Linked DNA regions of Homo sapiens: regions 2, 3, 4, 5, 6 and 7 are each linked to region 1. Evidence: promoter capture Hi-C in human tissues and cell types (Jung and others, 2019). All regions are on one chromosome and are shown on one strand. Each heading gives the region's core, a stretch centred on a gene start or on the middle of the fragment in contact. The rest is flanking DNA. Distances are from core to core; before and after follow the strand shown. Region 1 holds the start of FLRT2 (fibronectin leucine rich transmembrane protein 2). Region 2 has its middle 93 kb from the start of LINC02305. Region 3 has its middle 110 kb from the start of LINC01148. Region 4 has its middle 6.2 kb from the start of LINC01148. Region 5 has its middle 260 kb from the start of LINC02305. Region 6 has its middle 470 kb from the start of LINC02305. Region 7 has its middle 550 kb from the start of LINC02305.

Region 1 (2,851 bases), core at 125-2,624:
CTGGAAGCAGCATTCCCACAGCCTCTTCTGGGGCTGGCAAGGCTCAGAGAGGCATTTGAAATGGCTATTATTGACACCCATAGACTTGGGTATGTTTCAGAGAGAAACTATAACATCTATCTCATGGGAAAACACACTTTCTCTGTTTTTAAATAACTCCGTTTCAGCAAGATCCATGTGTGTAGCCTCTGAATACTCTATAAAGGCTCCGTATTTCTTTCTTTCTTTCCTTAGTCCGGAATGGAGACAGAAGAAAGATTCGGTTGAAGATGTCCCTGTGTGGATCTCAGTTTGCGCTCTGAGCGACGTCCTGGCTCATTTGGGTGTGACGGTGAGAGCAGAGGCGCTCTGCTGACAGTTTTTTCTTGTCTAAGCTTCCATTCCGCATCCACAATATGACTCGCCTTCCACTCCAGTTAACTTCTTGGAAGTCCAGAGCACTTAGTCAAAGCTGTTTACAAAATGCAAAGCATCTGGGCGGCCAAGGCAGAGGCTCCTGTGTTCTCTATGTAACCGCCTCCAAAAAAGCTGGGAAATTTCGCGGATCAAAATGTAGGCGCTTAAAGCTGACCCTCTGCTGTCAATGTTGGGACTTAGATACATTTTTTGCATCGTCATTCTTGTGTGTGTTTCCCGTTTATTCCATTCTAAGGCTCAGGCTCGCGCTGTTTCTCTCGCGCGCGCTGTCCCCTCTCTCCATTTCCCATTCACACATCAAACTCCGTCCTCCGCACCCCTATCTTCCCGTGTCTTCTTAGTTATGTGAATGTGTGTCATTAGGCTTACTCGGACACTGGATGGGTGAGTGGGAGGCAGCTTTTCTTGCGGTTTCATTTACACTTGGCATGGGTGGGTGGGTGCCCTCCACAATTCGTCTCGCACACGGAACACAGTTAAAATCTGTAGCTAGAACGAGTGAAAAGTTCCGAATCTTTAAAGCGCAGCTAGGACAGGAAATAATACAGGGTTGGGGGATGTGGACGGGGGCGGAGAGCAGAGAAGTAAAGGAATAAAACCAACTTCGCTGGCAACTTCAATAAATCCGGTAACTGGAGGCAAAAAATAGACTCCGAGGGCTGGGTCTGGTCCGGATGAAACGCTAGGGCTCCTTCCCTTCCTTGAATCTTGGGCGCTGGAAGCCAGCCACGGGCGTCTTGCCACGCGAGTGCCCCTAGACAGCAACACACCCACTGGAAACGCACGTGAACAAAGCTCTCGCCCCCGGGAGCCGCTGCCTGCGGTTTCCTAGTCGATCCCAGCTTCTCTAGGGAGTGTCAGGCGCACACAGGGTTAAGTTAGTTCCCTCCCTGGTAGGAGGGAGAGGAGGAGGAGGGGAAAAGCAGCATACTGTCTCAGGCTGGGTACCTTGTAGTTAGTTGTACGTTCGAAACCTGTCGCCGTCACTTGCGCGTTTGGCATTATCCATTGTCACCGCGGAGGAACGAGCGCTCGAGATATCATCAGTGCCCGCAAATCTCCGCGCCAAGGCGCTGAGCTACTCCTTTCCGAGGTGCGCCTCTGGTCCTCCGTCCCTGGTGCCCAGCAGCGGCGAGGCGGCATCTCCGCTCCCGCCGCCGTGTCCACCGAGCCCTGGGATCAGGGTGGCAGTTCTCAACGATGGGCAGGAGGGACCTCGGCGGCGACCCCTAAAACAATACCATGCCCCGGGATCCCCGCTGCTGCCGCGCCAGCGTCTTCCCTTTCCACCTCCCTGACCCTGTCGGATTCGGATGAGCCCATTGCAAGGAGAAGACGCAGCCGTCAGGTAAAAGGGGCTGCGTTGCCAGGTGAAGTTTCCAGTAACCGGCCGAGCTGCTGCTACGCTGGCACCACGCTGTCTCTTCGGGGGATTTTTTTTTTTTGAAAGAGCTGGGGGTGGTCATCTTAAGTGGGGTGCTCTAGGCTTTGTCTTTCACCTGGAGAGAAAATAGGCAGCTTAGCTCTCTCTCGACTTTGGGGACATCTGTCTGCTGGTCGAATCCACCTCCTCTACGGAGCATCATGACTGAGTTCTGGGTCAAAACGCAAATTTTCTTGCCTGGTAGATGCATCGATGCTAAATTGGGGTTCTCAGTGCCCCTAACCTTGTCAGAGTTCAGTCTCCTACTTCCCTAGATTGAATCTCTTAACTTTCACCAGTAACAACCCTCTCCCCTCCACAAGCTGTTGTTAATGTCACCAGCGTTATTATCAGGCTGTTGTATCTAAAGACACCAACCTACTACCTGCCCGTAATCTGGGATCTATTAGCAGTTAAACAGATGCGGTGGATACTAATTCCTTTTCCTTCCAGTTGGTGGGGGCGGGTGGGGCTTTTTCCAAAACCAAGTCCCTTCCAGCCCTGCTTGTCCTCTTCGGGCTGGCGGGCACTGAGCTGGGGCCATCACGCCTTTCTAGAGCGCCTGCGGAGGTGGCGAAGGCTTGGAGAGCATACGAGGCGGAATCCGGATCGAGTGAGTTCCTTGAGCCGCTTGCGTGGGACGCAGGGAGAGGGCGAATAACGCCCTCAGGCGCTGAATGCAGGGGCAAGGAGCCAGCGAGGGTGGCTGGAGCAGGCCTTGCCAGCTGTTACCAAGTCTCTCCACAGGCTTGGGGGCTTGGGGCCTCCTGGAAAGATCCCTCCGCCGCGCTGACCAGTACGGGGCTCGCTCCCGCACTTTGAAGGCTGCCGCGGTCTTTCGTCATTTATAATCAAGCCCAAGATCAAGGTTGCAAGCTGAGGTCGGGGTACTGACAACGGGAATGAAGCCATAGGGGAAGAGGATAACTGGGACGGGCTGGACCCATACTTGATACCCGGGAAACTCCTAGAGCGTGTGGTGCTCCTGCCAGCGGCAGTTACTGGTGGAGC
Region 2 (2,851 bases), core at 183-2,682, 1.7 Mb before region 1:
GTTTCTTTAACTTAGAAAACATATATATATATATATATATATATATATATATATATATATATATACATATAAATGAAAATATTGCGTTTTGGAAGAAAGATCAAATTATACATAAATGTTTTCCAATATTATGATAGCATGAAAATACAAAAATAACAACAAAAAAAGGTAAAGAAACACAGAAGTGAAAGAAGCATCTCAAAGGAATCATGATGACAGGCAGGGACCCTGAATAATTCTATGCACTTTTCCCAAACTAAGGCTTTACCAAAAGTCATGTGCAAAGAAAACTGTGGAGCTAGGATGTTTTCAACTGTTCTTGATGCAATTATAGAAGAAAGTTTACATGTTGCCTTCCCTCCTCCAGTATGATTCTTCCATTTTATGCCTAAAATATTTCTGTTATCTTCCACCTCTACCTTGTGATATTCCCTCTCCTCATGGACCACGCTTATTTAGAACATTGTATGAGAATGTAGAATTATGGCTCAAAACAACACCCAGTTAGTGGTGTTGCCAACATAAGGACCCAGATCTTTCCATTATTTTCACTGAATGCCAATACATGCAATTTAGTGTCTACTATTTTATTCTCAAGGTCAAGGGCAAAACCACTTCTACAAAAAAAGGCAGTTAAAAGTTCACAAATAGAAGAAAGAAAATTGAAAATTTTTATAATATACAAAATAAATTTAATAATGTGGATATGAAGCTCTTTGTCAGTTCACAATAATTGATTAATAATTTAGCCCAAGGAAGTCAAGAAGGACTTTGCAGCCTTAACGTTGTCACTAGTGCCCTCCTGTAAGTTTAAGGTAGAGAACCTGTGCCTGATGACTCTGGATACCTAACTTTTAAAAGGAAATTTTCCTTGCAAGTGTTTGGTTCACTGTTACCCATAATATATATGTGTTTAATTTGGGGTATAAAGTTATCTAAATCTTTGAGTAAAATTAAAAGACCAGTAAGAAGCTCTCTGTCACACATGCACCCAGGTTGAGAATGAGAGCATAAATAGAAGGTTTCACTTGGGTAAGTGGAGGAGATCCCACACACATGGCTGAATGTGTGCAAGGATTCAAGTCATCCAAACCCAAGAGAGTTCCCACAGTTGGTGAACAATGGGAAATTGAGGAAGGTCAGATTTCCGGGAAAGCAAACGGGAAATTCCACTAGAAATATGAGTTACTGGCTTTCTGGGAATTGGATTAAAAAAGTAATAATAATTAAACATTTCTATTAAACATTTTTAAAATGTTTATCAGACATTTTTAACATATGTTTCATACCTGGATAGCTTTCACAGCAGGCTATCTTCTTTTGCTTTGGGATATCTTTTGTTATTGGGAAGGAGAAGAGAGAGTTATGCTTTAAGTTCTTACAGTAGCATCATCCTCAGTTTCTACTTTCTTCATTCATCAAGCCACAGAAAAGCAGAAAGTAATCCCTGAAATTCCATTTTCAAATACAAATCTTAAAACACTGTTAGAATATGAAATACGAGGTTTCTGTGAGAACTTTATTATTGATATTTGTGGTTTTTTAAACTATAATGAACAATTTTATTTATTGTTAGAGCTTTTTAAAAAGAGAATTTATTCTACCTTCCCCATCTAAAACCAATTTTTATTTTGTCTTGCTTCTTTTAAACATTTATTTTATTTTTAAATTTCTTTTCCCCAACCATAATGGTAAATTATTCCCTTGCTTCTTTATAATGATTTTTGTCATTGAAAACTCAAAGCGCTGCATCTGGAAAAATGCTCCCCTTTTGTTTGATGCAGTAAGTTAAACTCCTCCTTTCACCCCTCCCTGAGAAACAAATACCTCCTCCACACATTGACGCGCACATAAACTTCAGGTCTTCAGCTTGTTCTCTTCACTTAAAGTCATTGCTCTTGTGTATTGCAAGCTATAATTGCTTCTAGCAATATAATGCCTTACCACACTAACATAATCCTAATGCAGTTACTAAATATTTTTTACATGGCAGTATCTCTCTTTGGATAACTATTACGTCGGGTATTATTATAATTCTCTTTGTACCATTGTAGTTTGAAAACGTATAGAAGAGAACCGGCTTATATCTGCCTAGCAATTAAATGGAATATTATAAACGGGATAGTCTATCAGTAAAACCTGACTGTTTACTTGCTGAAGTAGTTTTCAGCAGAGAAACAGCTGCAGCCCAGATTGCTCTAGGAAAGAATACATTTCATCTAAAATAATGTAGGCAGCATGCTTCCATTATGAAGTTGGATATTCACTTCCTCTGTTATTAGAAGGTGATAATAGAGTGGGCAATCCAGAAAGGTTTGACAGCATAAGAAGACAACGAAGAAGATGAAAAGATCCCATCTTCTGCTCACATTGAGAAATTCTGCTGATCGAATACAATGATCATAAAAACTGGCACTTGCATGATGAGTTTCTTGCAAGGATCTCAGCCCATACAGACATCATTTCTCCCTTTTTACAGTGTGATCACCATCACCGGGGTAGGAACCAATCACTTTTAAAGAGCCTAGTTATCTATCCAAGTATCTTTATATTCTCATTCATACAATATATTTAGGAGTAATCGATAAAGTGAGATTAATTATTCCAATATCTGAGGTTACTATTCATTTTATTTTTAGAAAACTTGTATTGGCTGAAAGTACTATGAGACCTATTTTCACATTTTAACTAATTATAATCCCATATGGGTCACTAGGTTCATCGGGCCTAAAAATTTATTATGGAGAAATGTCAGCAAGTTTCTCTACTGTATTTCCTTACCCATCTTAGCACAACCTAAGTAAATTTTTTCTCATTCGGAATTCTTATAGCATTTGCATTAATTTTTTGC
Region 3 (2,851 bases), core at 154-2,653, 1.5 Mb after region 1:
ATGCAAATGGAGGCTCAGTGGTCTTCTCAGGACAATTGGCAGGATTTAAGAGAGATAGAAGGACTTTTAGATGTGACTGTTTTACTAATTGAGGATGTGTCTGATGTGTCGGGGTCATCAGACTTTTAGCTGCATCTGATGTGATTGAATGAGTTTCTGTAGAAAATATAAAATGCTAGACAAGGATTGAGGAGTGGAGAACACCTAGATTTATTCCCAGAGTCTACAAGCCTCCCTCTGGGTGACTTATGCAAGCTTATGTTCATATCTTTAATATGAGAGGCATGGAGAGAAGATAATAGAGAAAATAATAATAATAGTGATATGATGATACTAATACTTAACATTTATTCATAATTTTTATATGTAAACATTGTTTTATTACTCCATGTGATTTATGTTATTTAAAAAAAACACAATCTTTAAAGCAATAAGCATATTAAAGGCCCTCAGGGAATAGGGCCTGTACAAAGGGGATTTTCAAGTGAAAGAATCTAAAATAAAGGGAGTCTATGACTAATCTCTGCTACATCTCCACCAAATAAAATCTTGCTATTTAGCAACTATGAGACCTGCTGCATTATCTGGCCTTCATCCATTCCTGCCCTGATCATTCACCATGCAAGATATTTACCTTGTGATTGTTAATTTTATGTCAACTTGAATGGACCACAGGGTGCCCCGATTGAACACCGTTTTGTGGTGTGTCTGTGTGGGTGCTTTGGGATAACCTTAGCATTTGAATTAGTGGATTTAGTAATGCACATTGCCTTCTTCAATGTGGTGGGTATCATCCAATCTGTTGAGAACTTGAAGAATACAAGAGGCGGATGAAGGAGAAACTCACTTTTTCTTTTTTTTTTCCGTTTTACTGCGTGCACTGGGTCAGCTTATTTCCTCTTCTACCTTTGGACTGAAATTCATACCATTGACTCCCTGATTCTCAAGTCTCTGGACTCTGACTGAATTACACCCGTGGCCACTGGCTTATTCCAGTTATGCAGCTTGCAGATGGCAGACTGTGGCACTCCTCAGTCTCCATAATCATGTGAGACAATTCCTCATTAAGTTTCTCTGGAGAACCATAACTAACATACTACACCTTCTTCCTTTTATTTTGTACAAAAGAATTTTATTATATATGTCACACAAAGTTTACATACCTATAAATATTAGATACACCACGTCATTCTCAAAAAATGAATTGAAGAGGACACTAAACAAATTTGAAGTAGATAATATTGTTCTCCCCATTTCTCAGATTTCAGCACTCAGACTTGGAGAGGATATGTAATTATCTCATGCTACACACTGGTGAATGGCAGACCAGGGACATGAAACCCAGGCTATCTAACCTCAAATCTGCCCCCTTTTAAACAGAAGACTGTGTTGAACACATTTTTCGCTTCTATCAGCCCCTTGAAAGGGGAAGGGCACCTAGACTGGCTGTTACCATTGCACTTGGGAAAGCTAATGATAAAGCTTGCAGAAGCTCTTCCAGCCCTAGGAAAATGAGCCAAACAACTATCTTATTTGAAGAGTTACAAAATGAATTGTTACAGGGAAACTTAGAGGTCAGTTGCTTACAGCCAATTTCCTTCTCCAAGGTTGTACCCACAGTTTTGGGCTCTGATATGTCACATTCCCTAGAATTGCTACCTCCTCTTAGGTACTCAATTGATGTTTAAAAGAAATCAATATGCAGTTTTAAGTCTCACTGACAAGGGAAGGTGGATTTTTGTTTCCCGATATATCAAGATAACTTGCTCCTGTAAAATTATTAAGTCTGTGTGACTTGTTGGCCAACCTGACTTCAAATAAAGTTATTTCAAAGGATAATAAAAGTCCTCCAAGCTCAGAAGACAAGGAAGACCTTAATTAAAATCAATGAAGAAAAAATCTGTAAAACAATTAAGCACTTAAGTTGACTCCTTTTAATTTGAGGTCTGAAGGTCTTCTTGGGAAATTCCTAAATCACTGAGATGATTTAATTTGGCTGCCTTGAATTAAGTCTGGTGAAATAGAAATGGTCTCTCAGATACTGTATAATGTATAATACTCAGAAGCATTATAGGAGTAGTAAAAACCAAAGATACAAGAAAACATTTATTTAAAGAAACAGGTGCAGGAGTTAGTTGTCCTCTGGAATAGATTTTTACAGTGGAAATATTTAATAGGCTGTTTATTTAAGAAAAATCCAGTTGGAGCCATTTTCTCTGAGACACAAATGGAAATTTAGTAGAAATTTTACCCTAAAAAAATCTATGATTCCATCTCAAATTTTTTCTAGAATTCAGTGTTTATTGAAATAAATGTCAGTGAACAAGATAGAATCATTCTAGCATTTCTATTAAAACTGTTGTACAAAATAGGTAAAGTGATGAATGACTGTGGAACTAGTTGTTTTGTTCTTTATTTTGATAGACATCTGTTGTTCCTACTGCCTAGTGTTGGTTGAATTTCCTTTAGGAAGTTACCTTTTTCCTTTTCTTTCCATAAGGTTTTGGGGCTAACCTTAGCTCCAGAAATATACATGTGATCCAAATCAAAGCCAACTTGACATTCTGTTTGCCAAGATCCGGTGTAGACATATGATTAAATTTGGTCTAAAATTAACACACAAGAGTCGAATCTGAGGCTTTGTATTGAAATTATTAGAGAAAATTCTCTTTTTAATTTTTTTTTTTTTCTGAAACCATGTCAGGTTCATACTTTGGGTGGATTCGAGCCTAGGAGAGTTTGAACTGAGTTTGCTAGGGTCATTATGTGAAGGAAAAAAAAAAAAAAAAGAAAAGAAAAAAATGAAGAGATGCCAATTCCTGATGATATTGTTTGGACTCCAGGATCAAAC
Region 4 (2,851 bases), core at 136-2,635, 1.4 Mb after region 1:
AATGTCTCCATCACAGAGGGCAGTGGTTGGTTTTGTGGGTCTTTTGAAAACCAAGGGCAGGTGATTTTCCCTTATTTTTTCTCTATTTTCATTCCATATTTTCTAACCCTCTCCTCGTTTCCACAAATGCATGCATGCATAAAAATGTCTTCCAGGGCCAGGTACAGTGGCTCATGCCTGTAATCCCAGCAATTTGGCAAACAGAGGCAGGAGGATTGCTTAAGTCTATGAGTTTGAGACCAGCCTGGGCAATATAGTGAGGCCCCATCTCTACACACACACACACAAATGCCTTCTGTTTTCTCAGGATCCATCTGAGGCTATGCTGCCTTAAGTAGTGATGGCATGGAGGCCTGGAACTACCCACTGAATCCATTTCCAGCCCATATAGTTAGTAAAGCATTGAAATTAAAATCCTATATAAATATCAGTTTTTATTGTTGCTTTTACCACTTTCATCTCTATAACTTATCATTTCTGATATTTCTAATTACCTTTTCTTTTTACAACTGAGAAAAGACTGTTCTTTGCAATCTCTGCTCAGACACAAGAGTTCCTATTGTCTCTACCACTGAATCAATATAAATTAATACATTTATGCGTTCTTATCTAGATCACAGACAAGTAGCTGAAGTCCATTTTCAATATGCATTCACTGCCAATTAAGCACTATACTTGCCGCTAGAATACCCAGAGGAACAAAATATAAACTCTGTCCTCAAGGAGCTTGTTGGCTAACAGCATTTCTTCAAGGGGGAGCTCTTGGCATTCAGGGTAAAGAAACCCTTTATTGTGCAAGACTGCCCTGTGCCTTTGCAGGGCATTTGGCACTGTAGTTTGAACCCATCAAATATCAGTAACAGCCTTCTGTTATTGTGGCAACCAAAAATCTCTCTTCATATTTACAAACAAGCATTGGGGAAGTAGTACTGTCCCTGTTTGAGCCTCTGATGAGCTGCTTAATGTCAGCCTGGATGTCTGGATACAACACATCTATCCTGCCTCTGAAAATAGACTCACGGACTGAACCCTTTACTTTGGTCTTTTGGCTCCCAGACGTTTTGCTTTTTTCAGTCCCTGGTCTTTATGGGAACCCTGGTCTCTGGCATGTCAACAGTGTCTTAGGATCTCTAGTCCATCACTTCCACCCAGGTACGTGCCGCCTAATTCACTAGATTCCCTCTTGATGGACAAGATGTAGCCTAATAACATCTAGCCTTTCACAGTAATGTCTTATTCAACTCTGTACTGGTATCAATAATTTCTCTAGAAGCATATTTGGGATACAGGTATACTCATTTCCAAGGTTTTCTCGAATAACGAGCAGTGTAATGTAATGTATTTGTCAGGGTGAAATTACTAGGAAAAAAATGTTTCCTTCCTTCATTAAGTCATTCATTTAACTGTTTATTGTTAATTGAGCAATTACTAAGTGCCAGGTATTTGATTGATCTTTGAGGATTTAGATGTAATCTTAAATGAATATTGCCCTTTCCCTTGAAGATTTTGCATTCTATTGGCAAAGATACTAATCAAATTATCGATGTATAAATGACATTTAGCATGAAAAAGAGATAGAGAGCTCTGAAAGTATATAATGAGATAATTGTCCTTGTCAGAGAGCACTGTGACAATTATCCAGGGGAACTGTCACTAAAGAATGAAAAGGAATTAACCTGGTGAAAAAGAGATGGAAGAGCATCCTAATCAGAAGAACTAGTGGGGCAAAGGACTTCTCCAGGTGGGAGCAGAGTGAGCGCAAGAGAATAAACAAGGCCAGTGGGTTAGAGCAGAGAGGGGCATGTGCAACAAGGGAGACCAGTGAGGTGGTGCAGCTTACCATGAAGCATCGTAGCTTTAAGCATGGGGAGTTTCATAAATTTCCAAAGAGCATTAAGAAGCCATTGGAATGTTTTAAGCAAGGAGCAGGAATTGGGTTGTCACATATGCCTATTTGTATTTGGAAAATATCACTCAGCAGGTTGTGGATGAACCCTAGTACATAGGGGTGCATAGGTAAGAATGATTTTGAATTAATGCAACAAACAAATAATACTAGTTTGATCCAAGATGCTGACAATTACAAGGAGAGGGTATATACACAATGTATTTAGTGTTGGTTATAGGGGTAATCCAGAGCATGGCGTCTGGTAGTGCTAGTTGAGAAAAGAAAAACAAGAAGAAAAAAAACATTGAAGTGGGTTGAGGAGTAGAGAGCATATGCTCAATTTTGGTAAGTTTTTAAAATGTCTTTGAGACATTAAGAGGAATATGTAAAGTAACTGTTAAGATACATGGCTGGCGTTTGGAGGAGTCATCTCACTGTTTTTCAGATTTTGAAGTCATCTGTATATATGTGGTAACTGCATGGACATGAGTAAGATTGTCTAGGGAGGGTGCAGAAAAAGCAAATGACCAAGGACCAAGAATCAAGCTCTGATGAATGCCATAATGAAGCAGCCCAGGCTAGAAGGCTGGGTGGACAAAGGAGTCAGAGAAGCATGGGCTATACATGCATTATAACAAACGCCAGTAGCATGTCATGGCAGCCAAGTAATGGTAATATTTCAGAAGAAGCCGGTAATCCACAGTTTAAAATCGTGCTGAGAAATAAGGAATAGAGGACTAAAAATGTCAGGCAACATACAGGTCAGAGTGAGTATTGCTTTGATGGACAGACAAGACTACAAGCAAAGGTAAATGGATTGAAAAGTGTGAGGGAAGTGAGGAAGTGGGAAGAAGCAGGTAGAAAAATTTATTTAGAGAGACATGATTCTGCATGGATAACAAGTCAAAGTGATACCTGAAGGAGAGTAAATGTTGACTTATGTTTCTCTACATATTTATTTGA
Region 5 (2,851 bases), core at 205-2,704, 1.4 Mb before region 1:
GGGATGTCAGACTGTGTTAAGGTCCTAGAGAAGGGAGTGAGGCTACTTTGCATGAATCAAAGGTAGGAGTTTTCTGTGGTTTCTGAACTAGAGTGCGTGAGGTAGGAAGAAGAGGAACAGGTAAGTGGGGAAGTTTGTCAGGCTCAGTACGAACCGTTCACCAACTCATCTGAAGTGTCAGCTTCAATAAAGCAACTAAAATGGCAAAACCTTGGTGTGACTGGATATTTAGTGAAATCTGTTAGAAAGAACAGTTCACCGGTGTGTTGGGTGTTAGTATTGGACAGGGAGAGCATGTGAGAGCTCAGGAATAGAAGAGCAGAGGGACTTGGAGAGTTCTCATGAAGGTTGGGAAGAAGCTTAGTGCTTATTAAGGTCATTGTGGAATCCAAGCAGTGAGGCAATCCTGTTGCTCTCCAAAGGATCAGAGAGGTGTCAGCCCACTTTGGGATTATATATAATATACTGAAGGCAATATCTATCACAAAAGTTATTTTGAGTAATAAAATATGTATGTCACTTACAGTTTTGAAGATTTAACTTGGAAATTAATTTGTGTACTTCATGTAGACAGTTGGTTTTGTGCATATCAGGCCCACAATGAATGTTAATATCCTCCCTGACATACCCAATTTCTGCCTTAATACTATTGCTGTAATTATTTCAGAGACCTTCAAATGCCTTTCTTTCTCCTCTTTCCTTATCTAATAAATTTCAACCAAATCCTGCCAGTCCCATGGAGTTTACTCTGAGTATTCTTGTGGACATTAATCTCCTTTCTCTGAAGATTTATAACACTTAGAACCATACCCTGAAATCTCAATTGTTCTCTTCTCAGTTTGATCATAAGCTCGTAAAAGGCCTAGAACATAATACATATTATATCTATGTTTCTTCTTGAGTACAAAAATTCTTCATTTAAGGGGTGTAAGTTCTTATTAATGAATTCTGAAGAAAATGAGAGGTATGCAAAAACAATTAGAAGTGTTCTTTTATGACCTCTAGGAATTTATATTAAGAATGACACAATCAAATCTTCTCCATAAATCGGAGTGAGGATCAGGTTAGATAACATTCCAAAATCATTTGCTGACAAATGTTGATATATTGGGCATTGCCATATTCATTATCTCAGTTAATTCTGTTTATTTTCCTTGAAGTAAAAATTTTAAGAAGTGAAAATGGATGCAGAAGTTAAAATGATCATTAAATGGCAGTTATTGAGTACCAATGTAAGAAATTGTATTAATCTGTTCTCATGCTGCTAACAAAGATATACCAAAGACTGGGTAATTCATAAAGAAAAGAGGTTTAATGGATTCATGGTTCCACATGGCTGGGGGATGCCTTACAATCATGGTGGAAGGAAAAGGAAGAAAAAGGCACATCTTACATGGCAGCAGGCAAGAGAGCTTATGAGGGGAACTCCCATTTATAAAACCATCAGATCTCATGAGACTTATTCACTACCACAAGAACAATGTAAAGGAAACTGCCTCCATAATTCAATTATCTCCACCTTGCCCCATCCTTGACATGTGGGGATTATTACAATTCAAGGTGAGATTTGGGTAGGGACACAGCCAAACCATATTAGAAGTAGTAATCAACACCTCTGATTTCTGATAATAGGTTGCTTGTATCACATAGCTCCCAGTCATGTTTGGGTTACACTTAAATAATTCAGCAGAGATCTCAGGCCATAGTAGAATGTGTCTAGAATCAGCCCTCCTGGTAAACATCTTTTTATTTTTCTCTTCTCCTCTCATTTTATTCAATATGCTTCTTTCTTTTTTCCCGTAACCACAAGGTAATGTAGATGAAAACAGAGGTGGATTCTAATTATAAACTATATATTCAACCATAAACAAATCAATTAACTTATGATACTCCTATATGAATAGTCTAAGTATCCTTAGTTGGAATATTACTTTAGTGATAAAACATTAATCACTGAAGTTGATTAATAATCAATAGATACTATAGAAAGCTAGTGTATTTTTTTCATTTTCCCAATTTCACTTTTTTTTCTGCTGCTGTTTATATCTTGGATCTTCCAATGCCACTGAAATGAGCTACTTAACTCTCTGCTGACACTCAGGTCTTAAATAGTTTAGATGGCGATCTAAATTAGTCTTTGGATTGTCTCAATCCCTAGAAAGTGTGGAATATCTTCTCCAGTTGTTTCCTTTCACAAGATGTATTATTTTAGTTGACTTTTCCCATCAATTCTTATGATAACCTTCTCATTCTTCAAATAAGGAGATAAAAGAACTGTATCAACCATTCAAAAACAAAGACAAACCCTTATACCTTCTGCGTAATGTATTAAAGAGAAATAACTTTACACAGAGAGCTATAGCCAAGTCCCCCGAAACCAGACAGGCTACCCAAGAATAGCTAAAAGAGCACACTCACCTGTGTGGCAAAATAGTGAGAAGATTCATGAGTAGCGGTGACAAGGCTACCGAGAGCCTGGTGATAGCTGGTTGTCCAAGATGGAATCTTAATTCAAATTTAAACTTACCCACAGAATTACTAAATCTTCCTGTAAGTTTAACTGTTAGTCTAAAGAGGGACAACTCTTTAGACCCTAGGAAACAACCTTCCTACGGAGAGTAAAAAATGTTACCACCATAGTTGGCCCCAAAACAGCCACCAATTAATAAAGCATTTAAGCTCAACATCTAACTGTCTTAGACTCTAATCACTCTACTGAACTCCTAACATCACATTGGACTAATCTATTATTTAATAGAAGCAATAATGTTAATATAAGTAACATGAAGCTGTTCTCCATTGCATAAGCTTACATCAGACTGGAATAACACGCTGACAGTTAACAGCCTAA
Region 6 (2,851 bases), core at 101-2,600, 1.1 Mb before region 1:
AAAAAGGCACTAAACAGCAACATGAGAGTTTATAGAAGTAGAAAGCTTACTGGTAATGGAAAATGTATTTGCAAATACATAATACTATAATAATCTAACAATGGGAATTTAAATGTAAAAAAAAAGTAAAGGTAAAAGATTGTACTCTAAATGTAAAAACAAAAACCTACACTCCTGAATCAAATGACATAGAGTGGATGAATGAGTAAAATAACAAAATCCAACTTTATGCTATATAACAAAATCTAAGTTTGGCAAAAAGAGATGCACTTTATGTTTACAAACACACATAGAGTGAAAGTGAAAGGAAAAAAACAGTTATTCAATACAAATAATAAACCAAAGAGAATAGGGGTGGTATATTTATATCAGACAAAATTGACTAAAAGTCAGAAATTGTCACAAGAGACAAAGAAGGATATTCTATACTGATAAAAGATCAATTCACGGAATACTATAGCAATTATAAATAAATATGCTCTCAACATCAGAGAATCTACATATGTGAAGCAAACATTGACAGAACAGAAGGAGGAATAAATAGCAACACAATAACAGTAGAAGATTTTAATATTCTACTTTCAATATTTGATAGAACATGCAGACAGGAGATCAAAAAGGAAACAGAAGACATGAACAGTCCTGTAGATAAAATGGATCTAACAGACATACAGAATATTTCACCCCAACAGCAGCAGAAGATACATTCTTCTCAAGTGCACGTGGAACATCTCCTGAATGGATCACATGTCACATGTCAGGCCACAGAGCAAGTCTTAATCAATTTAAGGAGACTGAAATAATATCAAGTATTATTTCTGACCACAATAAAATAAAACTAGAAATTAATAGCAGAAGAAAAATTGAAAAGTTCACCAATATGTGGAAAATAACAAACTTGTAACAACCAATTGATTAAAAAAAACAAAAAAAGTGAAATTAGAAAGTATCTAGTGGCAAATGTAAGCAAAAATAGAATATACTAAAACTTATGGGACTTAGCAAAAGCAGTACTGAGAGGCAAATTTATATCAATAATTGCTTACATCAGTAAGAAAGAAAGCTTTCAAATAAAAACCTAACTTCATACCATAAGAACACAGAAAATGAGCAAAACAAGCCAAAATTTAGCAGAAGGAAGGAAGAAATATTAGAGCAGAAATAAACACAATAAAGGATAGAAAAAAATTAATGATGGTGTTTTTAAAATTAGTTAATTTTTTGAAAAGATCAACAAATTGACAAATCTTTTCATAGTCTAGAAAAAGAAGGCTCATTAATAAAATCATAAATCAAAGAGGAGTTATTACAACTGATGCCAAAGTAATCAAAATGATCATAAAAATCTACCATGAACAATTACATACCAACAAATTGGATAACTTAGAAGAAATTGATAAGTTTCGAGAAACATGCAACCTACCAAGACTGAGTCACAAAGTAACAGGAAATTTGAACAGATCAATTACAAGTAAGAATATTAAATTAGTAATAAAAATATGCCAACCAAGAAAAGCTCAGGAGCAAATGTCTTCACTGGTCAATTCTGCTAAGCATTTAAGAAGAGTTAGTGCCAATCCTTCTCAATCTCTTAGCAAAAATTGTAGCAAGAAACAAACAAATTTTTTTCTGAGGCTAGCCTTATACCAAAGCCAGACAAATAAATGAAGAGAAAAAACCTTACAGGCCAACAATTCTGAAAAACAGAGATGCAAAAATCTTCAAGACAGTAGCAAACCCAATTCAGCTGCATACATAAAGGATTACACACCATGAACAAGTCAACATATGAAAATTAATCACTGCAATATACCATAATAACATAATTGATTCACACAATTATCTTGATACATTAAAAAAAAACATTTTACAAAATTCCACATGCTTTCCTAATAAAAACACTCAACAAACTAGGAATAAAAGAAAATGACCTCATCATGGCAAGAGTCACATATGAAAAGTCCACAGGACATGAGGTTGGAATGATCGTAAATGGGATTGGTGATTTTATAAGAAGAGATTAGAGAGGGATTTTTTTTTTCTGCCATGGGAAGATGCAACAAAAAAGGTGTCTGTTTGCAAAACAGGAAGGGAGCCGGCCTTCACCAGAAACCAAATAGGCCAGGACCTTGATTTTGAACTTCCCAGCCTCCAGAATTATAATAAATCTTTTTGTTTATGGAATTTTTGTTAAAACAGCCTAAACTGACAATGACAACAGTATCCAGAACTTCTACAAATCTATAGCAAAAACAATAACAACAACACCAAGAAAACATTGAAATAGACAAAAACTTTGCTAAGACTGGATATTTGACCCCACAAAATCCCATGTTGAAATTTGATTGCAATTTGGTGCCCAATGTTGGAAGTGGGGACTGATGGGAGGTGTTTGGGTCATGGGGGTGAATATTTAATTAATAGATTAATGCCCTCTCTCGGGGTGAGTGAGTTCTTGCTCTACTAGTTTCCATGAAAGCTGATTGTTGAAAAGAGCCTGTCACCCTCCCTCCTCGTTTCTTCCCTCACTATGTGCTATCTGCATACATCAGTTCTCCTTTGCCTTTTGACATGAGAGAAAGCAGCCTATCAGATGCCCAATCTTGAACCCTCTAGCCAGCAGAACCATGAACCAAACCCTTTTTCTTTCTAAATTACCCAGGTTCAGAAATTATAGTAACAAAAAGTATACTAAGAAAGACTTGAATAGACATTTTCTTCCAAAGGAGACAATGAAATGGCCAACAGGCATGTGAAAAAAATACTTGACGTCACTAATCATCAGAGAAATACAAGTCAAAACCACAATGAGATATCACCTTACACCTGTAGGAGGACTACTATCAAAAAC
Region 7 (2,851 bases), core at 145-2,644, 1.1 Mb before region 1:
ACTTTTTCTCATCTCTCGAGAATTTTCATTCTTCTTTTCATCTAAATATTAAAGTAAGGCACATAGTATTTTAATATGTTTTAAAATAAAGCCATGGCCATTGAGGATCTGACAGAGGCAAGGATTACTATGCATTTAGAGAAGCTGCAAATCATAGCATGATAGGTATGAATGCAGATTCTGGTATCAGATGGCCTGGGTTTAAAACACACCTCTGCCACTTACCAGCTTTATAATCTTAGGAAAAATATTTGACCTCATTGTGCCTTAATTTACTCATTTGTCAAACTAAAGTACTAAAAATACCTACCTCAAAGGGGTGTTGTGAGTATTAAATAAGTTAATATATGTAGAGTGCTTAGAATAATGCAGCACCTAATAACTGTATGTGTTAATTCTTCTATTTATGATACTGAGATATGCTTCACATCTCTAGTTTTGTGAGAAAATGATGATGTACACAAGGAGTACCCTTACTTTTCTGCCTCTTTAAATCTTTCACTATAGTTTATGAAAATATAGTAAATAAAACTATAAGAAAAACTTTAAAAGGTAAAAGTTAACATGTTAAAGGTTAATTATTTGGAAACTATTTTCCAGTCATCAGATTTTAAAACAACTAACTTAACTTATTGCCTAAGACCCAAACACTGCTCTTAACTATGAGAACAAAGGGAGAATTACAACCAGTCACTATTTGTTAGTTAGTGAAACCTGGTGAACACTGACTCATGGAATGGACTAATGCTAAAGTAAAAGGAAGCTGTCAAATAGATATGATTTTTTAAAATATTCTCCTATTCTCAAGACTGAGGCCTTATATGTCATTGGTATTTTTTTTTTTGCTTGCCTGCCATTATATCCAAACATACAAATAAATTCTTAAAAGTTTTAATTTAATTTTTGTTAACTTTTTAACCATATAAAACAGAAATAATACCCATTTTATAAAAGAGATGGAAAGGTTAAAAAGGGTAATGAATATGGAGCACCTGAAACAGGGACTAGCAGAAACCCTGACATAGACAACTCTTCCCATCTGCCATCCACTAAATGTTTCACATCTTTGGTTTGCTGACTCAGAAATCGATTCCAGTATTTTAGAATCTACTGAACTCTCCAAGAGCTTATTAAAATTGTCCCATCTTCCTCCCTTACAAGCATAGTGGTTTGGTTGTAGATCAAACTTAACTTTTTTTTTTTTTTTTTTTTTTGAGTTGGAGTCTCCCTTTGTCACCCAGGGTAGAATGCAGTGGTGCCATCTCAGCTCACTACAGCCTCTGCCTCCTGGGTTCAAACAATTCTCTTGCCTCAGCCTCCTGTGTAGCTGGGATTACAGGGGCCCTCCACCACACCCAGCTAATTTTTGTATTTTAAGTAGAGACGGGGTTTCACCATGTTCGCCAAACTGGTCTCGAACTTCTGACCTCAAGTGATCCACCCGCATTGGCCTCCCAAAGTGCTGGAATTACAGCCATGAGCCACCACGCCACATGGAACTTAACTTTGAATCTCTCCCAGTGTTGCTATAGAAAAGGCTACCCTGATCATGCCTCAAAAATTTGCTTCCATATTCTGTTCATACCACTCCCTACTACTTATTTTTCTTCTTTTCTAAATACTGTAAATAAGAATAGCTTGTATCTGTTAGAATGAAAATTCTTAGGGTTTTGGGAAACGAATCCAAATATACAAAATTTGAATACAGATGTGAGAATTGTACACAAGGAGATCCAGTATTTAGACAGGAACTACTATACTACAACTTTCAGTAGCATTTAGATATGGAAGTCTTTATTTTACATCGAATACTAACACACACACTCACATACACCCTATCTATTAATGTAATCTATGCCATAAAAATAATATAAAATGAAGCTTTCATTCCTACAAGGTTTAAACTTCTGCTCACAGAAGAAAAAATAGACCAATGAGCATCTAGAAACATATCTTATGAAAGACAAACACAAAGCAAGATATTTGTATATTTCTGATAGCTATATTAGAAGTAAAGAAAATTCTTCATAAAAGAAGGCAAATTAATTCCCTGTTTTTCCTGGTATAGTCTCCATATTCACCTCTAAGCCATTTCTATCCATTAAGAGGATTTTTGTGAACTTAACAAGTTTGAGATTAATTGTGAAAATACCCTTATGCACACATTCAAACTTCAAGTTAACTGAAATATGCTGTAATCTAGAAAACAAACTCTGAATCAAGACACTTGAGCTTTGTCGAAAGTTCATGTTTTCATTGCTTGAACATTTCTAAGTAATCGATTTCTAATCGATTGCCCCATAGCTGCATTTCTGCTGGACAACCTGGTTTCCTTCAACTCCAACTCAACAGATACACTCAGTAAATTTAGAAAAACTTCCTTGCATAAACAACATCCCAAATTTAGTTTGTTCTAATGATAGTTTTGTATGTGTTAAGAACATGGTTGAAAGTTACTTCAACTCTGCTGTGGTAAAGTGTCCTCCATTTCAATATATAAACAGGGTGAACTGTGATCTTTTACCATGTGGTTACAGTCACATTCAATCTGAGTTCATTTGTCATTCCTTTACCCTAGAAATAAAAGTAAACCAAAAGAAGGAGGAAGAACAATAGGAGGAGGAGAAAAATCACACACCAAAGGAACTCTTCCCTGGTACTGTAGAAGTTGATCATCTTAGAAGGCATATGTGTGCCATTCTCCATTAAATAGCAACTCTGCTTCCTCCCTTTTTTTCTTGGCCCCACTCATGTTTCCTTTGTAAAAGATTTCAAGCATTGGGAATTCTTCAAACCATTTCTTGGGGGTTAGTTGAGATTACAGTTCTCTAACTGAAAGTAAATATCCCCT

What was found. Contacts are between HindIII fragments. The study calls those that stand out against the background at their distance.
Region 2: a contact is called between a fragment that was not itself captured here and the fragment with the promoter of FLRT2 in region 1, in 1 of the 25 tissues and cell types used here (heart left ventricle).
Region 3: a contact is called between a fragment that was not itself captured here and the fragment with the promoter of FLRT2 in region 1, in 1 of the 25 tissues and cell types used here (dorsolateral prefrontal cortex).
Region 4: a contact is called between a fragment that was not itself captured here and the fragment with the promoter of FLRT2 in region 1, in 2 of the 25 tissues and cell types used here (dorsolateral prefrontal cortex and mesenchymal stem cells).
Region 5: a contact is called between a fragment that was not itself captured here and the fragment with the promoter of FLRT2 in region 1, in 2 of the 25 tissues and cell types used here (dorsolateral prefrontal cortex and lymphoblastoid cells).
Region 6: a contact is called between a fragment that was not itself captured here and the fragment with the promoter of FLRT2 in region 1, in 1 of the 25 tissues and cell types used here (dorsolateral prefrontal cortex).
Region 7: a contact is called between a fragment that was not itself captured here and the fragment with the promoter of FLRT2 in region 1, in 2 of the 25 tissues and cell types used here (dorsolateral prefrontal cortex and mesenchymal stem cells).

Annotation. Positions count from the first base shown.
Region 1 is chr14:85,528,770-85,531,620 of GRCh38, forward strand. FLRT2 (fibronectin leucine rich transmembrane protein 2) reads left to right here and starts at 1,375. Exons shown (of 2, transcript NM_013231.6): 1 at 1,375-1,765. It overlaps FLRT2-AS1 (FLRT2 antisense RNA 1), which reads right to left. Exons shown (of 2, transcript NR_184170.1): 1 at 1-2,851. The HindIII fragment of the contact is 3,489 bases long and covers 1-2,851 here.
Region 2 is chr14:83,820,792-83,823,642 of GRCh38, forward strand. No RefSeq gene overlaps it. Among named protein-coding and RNA genes, the nearest start is that of LINC02305, 93 kb to the right of the region's middle. The HindIII fragment of the contact is 6,578 bases long and covers 1-2,851 here.
Region 3 is chr14:87,009,602-87,012,452 of GRCh38, forward strand. No RefSeq gene overlaps it. Among named protein-coding and RNA genes, the nearest start is that of LINC01148, 110 kb to the left of the region's middle. RefSeq lists an enhancer at 1-330. The HindIII fragment of the contact is 4,134 bases long and covers 1-2,851 here.
Region 4 is chr14:86,898,112-86,900,962 of GRCh38, forward strand. No RefSeq gene overlaps it. Among named protein-coding and RNA genes, the nearest start is that of LINC01148, 6.2 kb to the right of the region's middle. The HindIII fragment of the contact is 5,785 bases long and covers 1-2,851 here.
Region 5 is chr14:84,169,050-84,171,900 of GRCh38, forward strand. No RefSeq gene overlaps it. Among named protein-coding and RNA genes, the nearest start is that of LINC02305, 260 kb to the left of the region's middle. The HindIII fragment of the contact is 4,006 bases long and covers 1-2,851 here.
Region 6 is chr14:84,384,680-84,387,530 of GRCh38, forward strand. No RefSeq gene overlaps it. Among named protein-coding and RNA genes, the nearest start is that of LINC02305, 470 kb to the left of the region's middle. The HindIII fragment of the contact is 3,461 bases long and covers 1-2,851 here.
Region 7 is chr14:84,461,715-84,464,565 of GRCh38, forward strand. No RefSeq gene overlaps it. Among named protein-coding and RNA genes, the nearest start is that of LINC02305, 550 kb to the left of the region's middle. The HindIII fragment of the contact is 6,074 bases long and covers 1-2,851 here.